Linked DNA regions of Homo sapiens: region 2 is linked to region 1. The links are contacts of gene promoters, found by promoter capture Hi-C in human tissues and cell types (Jung and others, 2019). All regions are on one chromosome and are shown on one strand. Each heading gives the region's core, a stretch centred on a gene start or on the middle of the fragment in contact. The rest is flanking DNA. Distances are from core to core; before and after follow the strand shown.

Region 1 (6,298 bases), core at 706-3,205:
TACTGTGCCAAGAGGACTATGGGAACTGATAAAGTGGGAGACAGGCTCAAGGAGAAGACAGGTCATTACCTTTTCCAGTGTAAGTGAGCAACCCGCTTGGCCCCCGAAACTCCACCACATCCCCAACCTTCAGGCTATCCAGGTACTGAGACATCTTCCCTCCCTCAGGAAATTTGGGGTGCACACCCTTCAGGTAGACCTTACAAGACAGAGAGAAAAATACCTTATTTGGAATGTCACTGGTTTCTGAGCCCCATGTTGACTAAACCTCCCTGAGGCTGGGGCAGGGATCAGATATGTGCTATCTTTTCCCCGTCTACATACTTTCTTTCTTTCTTTTTTTTTTTTGAGTCAGAGTTTTGCTCTTGCTGCCCAGGCTTGAGTGCAGTGGCGCAATCTTGGCTCACTGCAACCTCCGCCTCCTGGGTTCAAGTGAGTCTCCTGCCTCAGTCTCCTGAGTAGCTCATACTTTCTTCACATCCACAGAGTACATACCATTTCCTGCTGTCAGGCAAATCTTAGAAATTTCTACAAATCCCAGAAAGAATGGGTAAGCAGCCCCTGGGTCCCTTCCTAGCCCCTTACCTTGATGACAAGATCCACATAGCCTTGATCCTCATCACTGGTGACAGGAGTGTATGGCCTGATGACCAGGCTGCCATCAATTCGGGTGGAGAGGTAGATATGTTTGCCTGGGGACCGTGCAGAGAGCTACATAAGGGTTGTCTGTGATGTGCTGCATCCCTCAAAATACTCAAAGAGATTTGAGAGAACAAGATGTCTTGCTTCCTGCTGTGGTCCCAAGGAGCTACAAGGCAGGGAAGATTTGCCCCATTGAGCCCTCAGTTGGATCTCTTATAAGCGCCCAGTTGAGGAAACACTTATTTCCAGCGTTTCCTGCCAGTTACTGCCAGGACCTTGACAGATGAGCCAAAAGGGTCTGGGCAATGGGAAAAAGTTAGTAGTGCTTGCTCAGAGGGAGTAATTAGCAAATCCTGCAGGGAAGAGGCAAGACTGTTGAGTGTTAAAGCTGGATGGGGGTCATGGAAGCCACACTCTAGAGGGGCCCAGTGGCACCTCACAGCTTGGAGGATGCAGAGCCAAGTGGGGGAAGGGGAATGGTGTGTGGAGCAAACCGGTTGAAGCAGCGTGTTTCATGAGATCCCAGGAGGGGAGTCACCTTCTGAGGATACCAGGGAAAGGAGCCCATTCCACACTTTCCTTACCCACAGGCAGCCCCAGAGTGTGGTGGGCGGTGGGCAGGGCAAAGCGGAACCTCTTGGTGTTGTGGCTCACAGTCTGGAGGGTGGAGGACACAAGTGTTTCACCAAGCGCGCCTGGCGCTGCCACGTCCCTTGGACATCCCAACCACCGTGGGTGCTGTACCCTCCATGCCAGGAGCACTCTGGTCCCCTCCTTCACCCTGGCCCTTTCTTCCCCAACTTACCGTCTTGTCTAGCAGTCGTAGCAGGTACTTTTCATTGGGGTCCAGGAGAGTGACCTGAGGCCGGCGGGACCTCCGAACCAAGTAGGAGCCCACAGCCAGGCCGAGCAGAGTGACCAGCCCCACCCCCAGGGAGGCCAGCAGGACGGGGCTCTGTGGGTAGAGGAGGCAGCGTGACCGCCAGGCTGGGTAAGAGCCCGGGGCTTGGGTGGTGACCGTCCCAGGGGTGGCGATCCCGAGCTCCAGCGCGGAGGCATGCCAAGGGCAGAGGGGTAACCTGGCGGAGTCCCGAGCCCGGATGTGCGGGATCGGGACCCCAGCATCCACGGTGGGCCCAGAGCCCTGCGGGGCGGGGTCGGCAGCGACAGCCCCTGGTCCGGAGCTGAGTGGCCAGAACCAGATGGGGAGGGGTCCCCCAGTGGAGGATACTGAATGAGGGTCTTACCGTCTGGATCCCCATGACGGAGCGCCTTTTCCTCCACCACCTGACAAGCCGACAGATCCCACAATGCGCCGCGGGGCGGGTCGGAGGGCGGGGCAGGCCGGGGGCGGGGCCGGGCAGGAGGCAGGACCTCGCGGCTGGGGGGGCAGGAGGCGGGGCCTGGCGGGGGGGGGGGGGGGTGTCTGTCGGGGGCGGGGCCTAGCAGGAGGTGGCGGCGGCGGGGCCTTTTGGGGGCGGGGTCCGGCAGAGGCGGGGCTGGGCCCCTCTGCGCGCCACCCTTTCCCTCCGCTACTCGGTGGCTCAGGGTCTCCGGTGCTTATTCAATACTTTTTTTTTTTTTTTTGAGTCGGAGCCTCGCTCTGTCGCCCAGGCTGGAGTGCAGTGGCGCGATCTCGGTTACTGCAACCTCCGCCTCCCAGTTTCAAGTGGTTCTCCTGGCTCCGCCTCCCGAGTATCTGGGACTACTGGCGTGCGCCACCACGCCCGGCTAATTTTTTTTTTGTATTTTTAGTACAGACTGGGTTTCACCGTGTTGGTCAGGGTGGTCTCGAGCTCCAGGGCTCAAATAATCTACCCGCTTCGGCCTCCCAACGTGTTGGGATTACAGGCGTGAGCCATCGCGCCCGGCCCCAAGATCTTTTAAGACCGCAGCTCCAGCCTCTCCTCCCAGCGAGGTGGTCCCTGCCACTTCGACCCGCTTATATCCGAACTGGATGGGAGTTCTGCCTAAGGTAGAACCACGCTAAATTGGGGGATTGGAAATCTCTTGAGTCTGCGGGTGCTGAGCGGAGAGTGTAACGATGAACCAGAGACAGGCTCAAAGTAGAGCAGAAGGGCCTGAAGTTAATCATTGTGCAGTCACCTTAGTTTTTCAACCGGCTGAATTGCAGCAAGAGAATGGAACAGCCCAGAGGAGTCTCTTACAGGAGTGAACAGTGGCATGGCAACTTCATTTCCTTTTGACAAAAGACTGATTTTGTTTACAGCGCCAAGCCGTCAGCCTATCAGGATGATTCAGGAGCTTCCTTTGGTTTCAAAGACCAAGCTTCACATCCTGATTTGGGTTCTTGTGCCCTTAGGGTCAAAGAAGTGGGCTTTGGAGGCAGAGTGTACAGAATAAGAATCTTGCCTCTAGCACTTATTGGCTCTGTGACCTTAGATAGCTTACTCAACCTGAGTTTCTTCATCTACAGATGGATATAAGATGGATATCTACAGATGGATATATATTATTATCTACAGATAGATTGTATCTAGTTCATAGCTTTGGTGTGAGGCTTCAGTGAGATATGTTAACGTGCTTAGTGTAGTGCCTGTCATAAAGCAAAATATTCAACAGTTGGCAGCTACTATTATAACTTAAAAGACAGCACAGAGGGTCAGCTATGGTTTTAGGAATGAGCTCTGCCTGGGGCACAAGCATGGGACAGGAGGAGGCAGGAAAAAACATCAGGAGCCGCTGGAGCTACAGATTTCCCAAGATGACCATTCTTTCTCATACATGAGTTTCTCAACTAGAATGACATTTGCTCTTTGATATACCGTGATGGATGAGATCTCTGCAGATGTCAGTGTCAACATCTTAAACTAATACCATCAGGGCAGCAGGGACATTAGAGCCCCCAGTTTTCAGTTGTATTTGGTGAACTCTGTGAATGATCCAAGAGATACTTAGTTTTCCTTTTCCTCTCCACTGGCTGAAAATGTTCCTAAGACCCCAGTACATGTTCCTCTGAATTTTTTAAGCAGCCTGCACACTGACTTGAGGGAAGTGAGTGCACCAGATCATGGTGACATGCCAATCCATGCAGAGAGGGTTGAAAAGGGGAAGGAAGGGACCCTTCCTCTTTTCTGTTCCGAGAGAATGAGGCGATTATGTTCCGGTGCTTCTGACATCCCCACTGCTGGCTTGGTTAAGAAGCCACACTACTGATCCTTGCCACTGCTCCACTCTGGCTAAAGAGGTTCTAGGCCTTCCTCCCTCTAGTGGATAGATGTGGCAAGAGAGGGGGAAGTATGGAACGAAAGGAGAGCATAACTACAACTCGGGCTTCTCTCAGTGATTGCATTTTCTGAACCCCAAAGTGGCACATTCTAACAAGTGTGAGTGTATCACTGGGAACCACAGGACAGAATGGTTGGGTGTGGGCTTATCCTGGAAACTAAGTGTTGGACTCAGTAATTGTGGGAAGGCTCTTTTGCTCCTGAAAATGAATGCTGCAGGAGTGGTGGGAAGGGGCTGATGGCCTGGCAGGTCTTCCTGTCTCAGATTCTGTGGTGAATTGAACTCCACTCCACCACGACTCATGGTAATCTTACATTACTCCTAGTTTGGAGGAAAAGATAGGCATTTCTGAATTTTTATTTAACCCAATCTTTTAAGTTTAGGATTTCCTCCTGGGTATACAATAAAGAATAGAACAGGCTGGGTTCACGCCTGTAATCCCATCACTTTGGGAGGCTGGATGGATCACTTGAGCCCAGGAGTTTGAGACCAGCCTGGGCAACATGGCAAAATCCTGTCTTTACAAAAATACAAAAATTAGCCAAGTGCGATGGCGCTGGCCTGTAGTCCTAGATACTAAGGAGGCTGAGGTGGGGGTATTGCTTGAGCCTGGGAGATCAACGCTGCAGTGAGCCATGATTGCGCCACTGCACTCCAGCCTGGGCAATAGAGCAAGACCCTGTTTAAAAAAATATATATATATAATGTAGTGTGAGGGGGAAGTAGAATTTCAAACCTGTGTTTTATAATTCTGAATTAGGATGTAAAACTCAGTGGCCCTTTTTAGATAAGATATCCAGAAAGAAGCTTGGAGGAAGACTTGCTCATACTGAGGAGATGGCATGGAGGAATCAGACCAGGAGATGTAATAATGACAAAAAAATTAACATTTATTGAGCATGTGCAATATAGCAAGAACTAGGTAAATTGCTTTTCACGTATTCTGACAACATCCATTTAATCCTGACAACAACTGTGAGATAGATATTATCATTAGTAGTCTCATTTTATGGAGTGGGGGGAAACTGAAGTTTAGGACAAGTAAGTCACTTGCCCAAGATCACCTACTAAATGGCAAACTCAGACTGCATACCAGGCAGCTTGATGTTGAAAACTAACAACCTCACACCCTTTTTGAACTTTTCTTTTTTTTTTGAGACGGAGTCTTGCTCTGTCACCCAGGCTGGAGTGCAGTGGCGCAATCTCGACTCACTGCAACCTCTGCCTCCCAGGTTCAAGTGATTCTTCTGCCTCAGCCTCCTGAGTAGCTGGGATTACAGGCATGCGCCACCATCCCCGGCTAATTTTTGTACTTTTAGTAGAGACGAGGTTTCACCATGTTGGCCAGGCTGGTCTCAAACTCCTAACTTCGTGATCCGCCTGCCTCAGCCTCCCAAAGTGCTGGGATTACAGGCGTAAGCCACCGTGCCTGGCTGAACTTTTTAGTATGGAAACTATCAAACATATACAAAAGTAGACAGAACAGTATAATAAAGCCCGACGTACCCATCACCCTCTTCAACAATTATTAAATCATGGTCACCTTTCTTTCATTTCTTCCCCAGTCCGTTCCTTCCTCCAGTATTATTTTTAAGCAAATCCCATATTTTTTATAACTTTGTCCTTAAATATTTTAGTGTGTATCTTTAAAAGCTAAGGACTTAAAAATAACCATAATACCATTATCACATGTAAAAATAATTAACAACAATTACTTAGTTTCATCAGATAGCTAGTCAGTGTTCAAAGTTCCACCTGTCTCTTTTTTTTTTTTTTTTTTTTGAGATGGAGTCTCACTCTGTCGCCTAGGCTGGAGTGCAGTGGCATGATCTTGGCTCACTACCAGCTCCACCTCCCAGGTTCACGCCATTCTCCTGCCTCAGCCTCCCGAGTAGCTGGGACTACAGGCGCCCGCCACCACGCCTGGCTAATTTTTTGTATTTTTAGTAGAGACGGGGTTTCACTGTGTTAGCCAGGATAGTCTCAATCTCCTGACCTTGTGATCCATCCTCCTCGGCCTCCCAAAGTGCTGGGATTACAGGGATGAGCCGCCGTGCCCGGCCTTTTTTTTTTTTTTTTTTTTTTGAGATGGAGTCTCACTCTGTCACCCAGGCTGGAGTGCAGTGGCACGATCTCGGCTCACTGCAACCTCTGCCTCCCGGGTTCAAGAGATTCTCCTGCCTCAGCCTCCTGAGTAGCTGGGATTATAGGCGACTTCCACAGCGCCCGCCATGGCGCCTGGCTAATTTTTGTATTTTTAGTAGAGAAGGGGTTTCACCATCTTGGCCAGACTGTTCTTGAACTCCTGACATTGTGATCCACCCGGCTCGGCCTCCCAAAGTGCTGGAATTACAGGCATGAGCCACTGCGCCTGGCCCCAGCTGTCTCATTTTAAATTTGTAATTGT
Region 2 (6,332 bases), core at 1,743-4,242, 890 kb after region 1:
GTCTCTTTTTAAATGAATTATTTGTGGTATTTCTAGTACTGAAGGAGTTTTGATATTTTATTCTGAATTATTCCCCATTTAAAAGAGTCTATTCTCACTGCTTATCAGATATTTTCTGCCCTTTGTAGCTAAACCCAAAGTGAACGTGAAGCCATCTGTGGTTAAAGTTGTGTCATCCCCCAAATTGGCCCCAAAACGTAAGGCAGTGGAGATGCACGCTGCTGTCATTGCCGCTGTGAAGCCACTCAGCTCCAGCAGTGTCCTACAGGAACCCCCAGCCAAAAAGGCAGCTGTGGTAAGAAGTATATTCACTTTGTGGTGCTTTATTCTGTGTGGTAGGAAAGCAGGAAAGACTAACTCTCCACTAGCATTCTATCTTGAGTATATCACTTCCTGGCATTTCCTAGCATTTTAGTAATTTGGGTTACTACTGTATTTTATACTTACAGTTTGATATTTGTGAAGTAGCAGGACAGGATTTTTTAAAAGCTAATTTTTAGGTGGCAAGATATTTTGCTTATTTATATACTCAACCTTTAGATTATCGATTCTTAGATTCACAGGCTTAAAGAATCATAGCCACAATTCTAAGAAGGCAGCAAAAGAAAATGAATATGCTCAAATTAAAAAGCCTGACTCTCACTGAATTACCTGACTCTTCCTTTTGTAGGCTGTTGTCCCGCTTGTCTCTGAGGACAAATCAGTCACTGTGCCTGAAGCAGAAAATCCTAGAGACAGGTAATACTTTGTAATTCTTTCTAAACAAACTCCAGGCCCCTGTTACTGTTTAGGCTCTCTAGAGAATAACACTGATAAATAACTTTAGCAACATTCAAATAAATCTGTTGCACTTCAAATTAATTGCAAGAAAGTATGAAAATCTAGGGTTGCTGTTCTTCTTTGGTGCCATTGTTTACATTTTGCTATATTACCTAAAAGATGTTTTTTTGTTTTTTTGTTTGAGGCAGCGTCTCACTGTGTCACCCAGACTGGAGTGCAGTGGCACAATCTCTGCTCACTGCAACCTCCACTTCCCGGGTTCAAGCAATTCTCCTGCCTCAGCTTCCCAAGTAGCTGGGATTACAGGTGCCTGCCACAAGGCCTAGCTAATTTTTGTATTTTTAGTAGTGACAGGGTTTTGCCACATTGTCCAGGGTGGTCTCAAACTCCTGACGTCAAGTGATCCACCTTCCTCGTCTTCCCAAAGTGCTGGGATTACAGGCATGAGCTACCATGCCCGGCCCCTGAAAGATGTCTTTAACACCTACTTTGAGTTATAAAAATGCTTGGTGCTGGCCAGGCAAGGCGGCTTATGCCTGTAATCCCAACATTTTGGGAGACTGGGGCTGGAGAATCACTTGAGCTCAGGAGTTCAAGACCAGCCTGGACAACATAGTGAGGTCTTGTCTCTAATAAAAATCAAAGAAATAAAAAAAAAATCACATGGTGACACACACCTGTAGACCCAGCTACTTGGGAGGCGGAGGCAAAATGATCGCTTGAGCCCAGGAGGTCGAGGCTGCAGTGAGCCATGATTGTACCACTACACTCCAGCCTGGGTGACAAAGGGAGACTCTGCCTCAAAAAAAAAAAAAAAAAAAAAAAAAAAGCTTGATCCCAAATCAGTAAAAGAATTATTTCTTTATGTATGTTCTTAAAAACAAATTTTTGCTCACTTTGTGTCCGTGAGACTAGGTGATTCAGCCAACTATTTTTAAAACGGCAGTTTTCTAATAATCTTTTTTTTCTTACAGTCTTGTGCTGCCTCCAACCCAGTCCTCTTCAGATTCCTCACCCCCGGAGGTGTCTGGCCCTTCCTCATCCCAAATGAGCATGAAAACTCGCCGACTCAGCTCTGCCTCAACAGGAAAGCCCCCACTCTCTGTGGAGGATGATTTTGAGAAACTAATATGGGAGATTTCAGGAGGCAAATTGGAAGCTGAGATTGACCTGGATCCTGGGAAAGATGAAGATGACCTTCTGCTTGAGCTATCAGAAATGATTGATAGCTGAAGGTGGTAGTGAGGACACTTTAAAAAAAAAATCGCCAAAAAACTGGACTTAGTTTCATCTATTGTAACATTTACCTGAGATGATCATTTCTTTAGTCTAGAATTTGCCCCAAATCAGAAGTATACCTCTGAATTATCTGTATGTGTCCTGGATTCCTTGGGGTCAGATTTTTAAAGTTACTTTATAACCATTTTGTCCATTTGATGCCATTGTTTATCATCTTTTGAGAAAAAAGTTCTGTCATACCCTTCTCTCCACAAAAAAGAGACTGAGAGGGAGATCAAGTGAAAGGGTGCAAGCGAACTTAGTGACTCCTTGAGGTGTTTGTCAGTTTTGGCTTTTTTCTTCTTTGTTGTATTCTTTATGTATTGTCTTGATGTACTTAATATTACCTGAGTTTGAAATGGATGAAGACAGCTGCTACCATTAAGGACCAAATTTTATGCTACCACTAAACAAAAATACCCACTCAGTCTGTGTTAAATTGTATGTCTTTTTAAAGGTATTTAAAGATTCAACTAAGCTTTAAAGAGGGCTGAGCAGCTCAGGAAGCCTGTAATGTGGGCATAACTCTTTGGACCTGATCTTGATGCTTCTGCTGCTCTGTTAGCCTCTGAAGAGCAATATCTAATTTATTATTACTGTAATTTTTTAAAAGGCTTTAAAGTGCCTCAGGGGTCCCCTGAAACTAATTTTCTATTTCTGGGATTCCCTGGATTCATTATATGAGATGGTGACATGATTAGAGGAATTCTTTTTTAGTATGAAAATTGTCCTTTTTCTTCTTCAGTACTTGCCTCCTTGCTGGCATTGAATTAACACAGGGACAAAATTTGGTTAATTTTTTATTTCTAACTCTCCCAACAAACCCCTGTTGCCCAGTATTTGTTTGGTGGCCTTTAACCACCTGAGGGAAAAAATGAGCTTATTCAAGCTGCCAATATTTATCTATGGGCTGTAGCAGTACACTGAATTGTACTGTGCCAGGGATATTGAGATGCTCTGGGGGTGTATTGTATACCTGCCAGTTTTCTTCATTTCTGAATTGAGTTTTCTTTTCTTGATGTTGGTTTCCTTCATATCACCTCAAGGTTTAGATTTGTGAAGGAATAAGCATGATGGAAATAATAGTCTTGAAAGGAGATATGTTGTATATAATCAGGAGGAAGAGGAAGGAAGGACTTACCCATTTTGATATTTTGCTGTAGGTGGCCAGTTTTGTTTCTCATAGGGAAATCTGACCCACCTGTCATGTTGGCTCCTAAGGAACTGCTGTTGTAAGCGGCTCATCAAGAGTTGAACTTCACGTAGCCTTGTTGGGAATATGGAAAAGGAAGAAAGCCACAGGACTGCCCATTCAGTCTTGGGAAGATTGGGATGATTCTGCACAAGCAAAAATGACTGAAGTTTATGTATAGACACACCTCTACCAATCCATCTTCAGCTGACTGAATGTTGTATGATAGCCCTTCTCCAAAGCAGAGGTAGAATGTTCAGGTTTCACCATGGATTTTCTACTTATTTCGTTTTTGGAATCAGCTTACAGATTCCAGGTCCCTTTTGTATATATTCTTTATTCTTTTGCTTTTTTAAAAAATAATTTTGTTTCATATTTAAAGCACTTGTATTAGTCAATGTTTCGTGTTCCGCATTATTTGAACCATTTGCCCTTACAGAAAGAGAAATACTTGTTTGTGTTTTAAATAAAACTGATGTAGGAAAGTCTTGATGTTGTGAGCTAAGTAATCTTACATCATCATATCAGCCTGGGATCCATCTTGACAAGAGACCCCAGACAGAATGCTATTGGCCTTTCGTGTAAGTGCCCGAATTTCAGTTATTATTTGGCTTAGAAACCTTTCATCTGGATATATTGCCAAATTTACAAGTGTGCTCAATTTTAGCTGCATATGCTTTAGGTAAGAATTTATATTATTATAATGTGAGGATTTTTTTTCTGACACGGATACTTACTCCTTAGTGTTGTAACTCAAGCAATGCCATTAAGTTTTTAAAAGGAGGGAGGGTTTAAAAGTGATCTTAGGGAGTCTCTCTGGGCCTACTCTGGCTCAAGAGGCTGATAAAAAATAAATAAATGAATAAACTTGATCTTTAGAGTCAACGATTTAGAATTTTCAAGCATGAAGGTGCAGCAGATAAGAAATTTAATTTATAGAAGTCCAGGTTTCTTAATATGTGTGCCAATTTTTAAAATTGTAGGAAAGTATATGTTTGTTAGCTACCAAAGAACATAGATTTTTCCTATTAGTCTAAAAGTCGTCCCAACAAGTTGAATCAACTTTTCACAAAAAGCAAAAGACTATAGTTTTGAATGATAGTTTTTCATTTTAACAGTAAGAAAAGGGCCCAAATATTCCAGTTTGGTTATAGCCAGAAATAAGATAGTTTTATGTTTCATATATTTTATCTCAAGATAATAATTCCTAAAGTTCTAGCCTTAACCCTAAATCTCAGTGGTTCTTCTTTAAAGCTAGAACATAGTGTGTTTTCATCTTGATCAGTATTTGAAAGATGAGACTGATGTTTACTAATTACAATTGCAGTAACAAAGCTTGATCTATTAATATATTGATCAGAGTTCCATGATCCTTTTCTAAAATGGTGGCTTTATTTTGCCAGAATAATTCTGCAGGGTGTTTTTTTTAAGACAGAGTCTCACTCTGTTGCCCAGGATAGAATGCAGAGTGGCACAATCTTGGCTCACTGCAACTCTTGCCTCCCAGTTTCAAGCGATTCTCCTGCCTCAGCCTCCTCAGTAGTTGGGATTACAGGGGTGCACCACCACACCTGGCTAATTTTTATATTTTTAGTAGAGACAGGATTTCACCATGTTGGCCAGGCTGGTCTGGAACCCCTGACCTCAAGTGATAGGCCTTCCTCGGCCTTCCAAAGTGCTGGGATTACAGGTTGTGAGCCACCACGCCCAGCCAACAGTTCTGCAGTTCTGTAAAGTATTTGATTGCTTTGAATTTGGCTGTAGCACAGGAAATACATGGTCTCCAGTTGTAACTGCTTAATAGGTAAAACTTAAATTAGCTAACATTTATTGAGTACTTATTGTGTATCTTTAATTCACGTCCTCATTTTGACACTAAATTATACAGTACATTAAAGATGACTATTCCCGCACTGAAGTTTCAGGGTCAGTATGTTTATATATTATGTGCCATTGGGTTTGATTAGTAGATCTTTTCAAGAGTGTTTTTTAAAATCATGACTTTATGAAGCTGCTCAGTAACTCTGAAAATTCCTACAACCCAGACATTTAACTGCATTAATAATTAAGACTCCAAACCGCAATTTATTTTGAATTTGCAAAAAGATATTAGTTAAGGGGCATGAACACAATTAAAATCCTTGACCATTCTCTTAAGTTTGTTCAATAAAGTGGGCAAAAAATAAGTAATGACCGTAAATAAGAACAGCAATCAAGAATTTAGTTTTACATTTAAAAAAAGTAATTTTGGCTGGGCACGGTGGCTCACGCCTGTAATCCCAGCACTTTGGGAGGCCGAGGTGGGTGGATCATCTGAGGTCAGAAGTTTGAGACCAGCCTGGCCAACATGGCAAAACCCCATCTTTACTGAAAGTACAAAAAAATTAGCCAGGCGGGGTGGCATGCACCTATAATCCCAGCTACTTGGGAGGCTGAGGCAGGAGAATTGTGTGAACCTGGAAGGCGGAGGTTACAGTGAGCCGAGATCAATCACCACTGCACTCCAGCCTGAGCAACAGGGCAAGACTCCATCTCAAAAAAATTTTTTTTGGATTTATATTTACTGAGAGGGTCTGTTACTAAGGTATTTAGATTTGGTTGGATTTAACTGCTAAAATGTTGTAGAGTCTGAATCTATGGCATGGTAAAGAATAATCACAGCCATTCAGCAAGTTGTGAAGCTTCTGGTTGGGATGAAAGAAACTTCAAGCTGAGAGGAAGAATGTTCTGAAATATTTGGGAGGTTTGGCAGACTCCTTTCTCAGGGGTATGTTCATTTGGGCCAGTGATTCTGAAGCCCACTTTGCAGATATCTTAGGTGTGTCATGAAGTTTTACAAGAACATTGTGAGTAGTTGCAATAACAAAAGGAAACAAATGTTTCATATTACTTTCCATTATCCGTGTCTCAGGTATTCTTCCAGAGATACTTTAGCCATGTGTAAGTGAATACACTTCCATACAATATCATGCGTAAAACACATGACATTCTGAACCCTGCCGTTTTTATTAAAGAAAATTTCAAATGTATTTAGAATTAAAGTATAATAAACTCCACATAGTCACCCAGTTTCAACAATTGC

What was found. The method cuts DNA at HindIII sites, captures the fragments that hold promoters and counts their contacts. A contact is called where the count stands out against the background at its distance.
Region 2: a contact is called between a fragment that was not itself captured here and the fragment with the promoter of CYB5R1 in region 1, in 1 of the 25 tissues and cell types used here (hippocampus).

What each region holds. Positions count from the first base shown.
Region 1 is chr1:202,965,302-202,971,599 of GRCh38, forward strand. CYB5R1 (cytochrome b5 reductase 1) reads right to left here and starts at 1,956. Exons shown (of 9, transcript NM_016243.3): 1 at 1,890-1,956; 2 at 1,448-1,597; 3 at 1,227-1,299; 4 at 586-692; 5 at 70-199. The coding sequence starts at 1,904. RefSeq lists silencers at 1,864-1,913, 1,984-2,143, 2,760-3,054. The HindIII fragment of the contact is 6,951 bases long and covers 1-3,814 here.
Region 2 is chr1:203,850,387-203,856,718 of GRCh38, forward strand. It overlaps ZBED6 (zinc finger BED-type containing 6), which reads left to right. Exons shown (of 17, transcript NM_001395895.1): 15 at 129-295; 16 at 671-738; 17 at 1,755-3,738. ZC3H11A (zinc finger CCCH-type containing 11A) reads left to right here. Exons shown (of 18, transcript NM_001376342.1): 16 at 129-295; 17 at 671-738; 18 at 1,755-3,738. The coding sequence ends at 2,013. Among named protein-coding and RNA genes, the nearest start is that of SNRPE, 8.0 kb to the right of the region's middle. The HindIII fragment of the contact is 4,531 bases long and covers 728-5,258 here.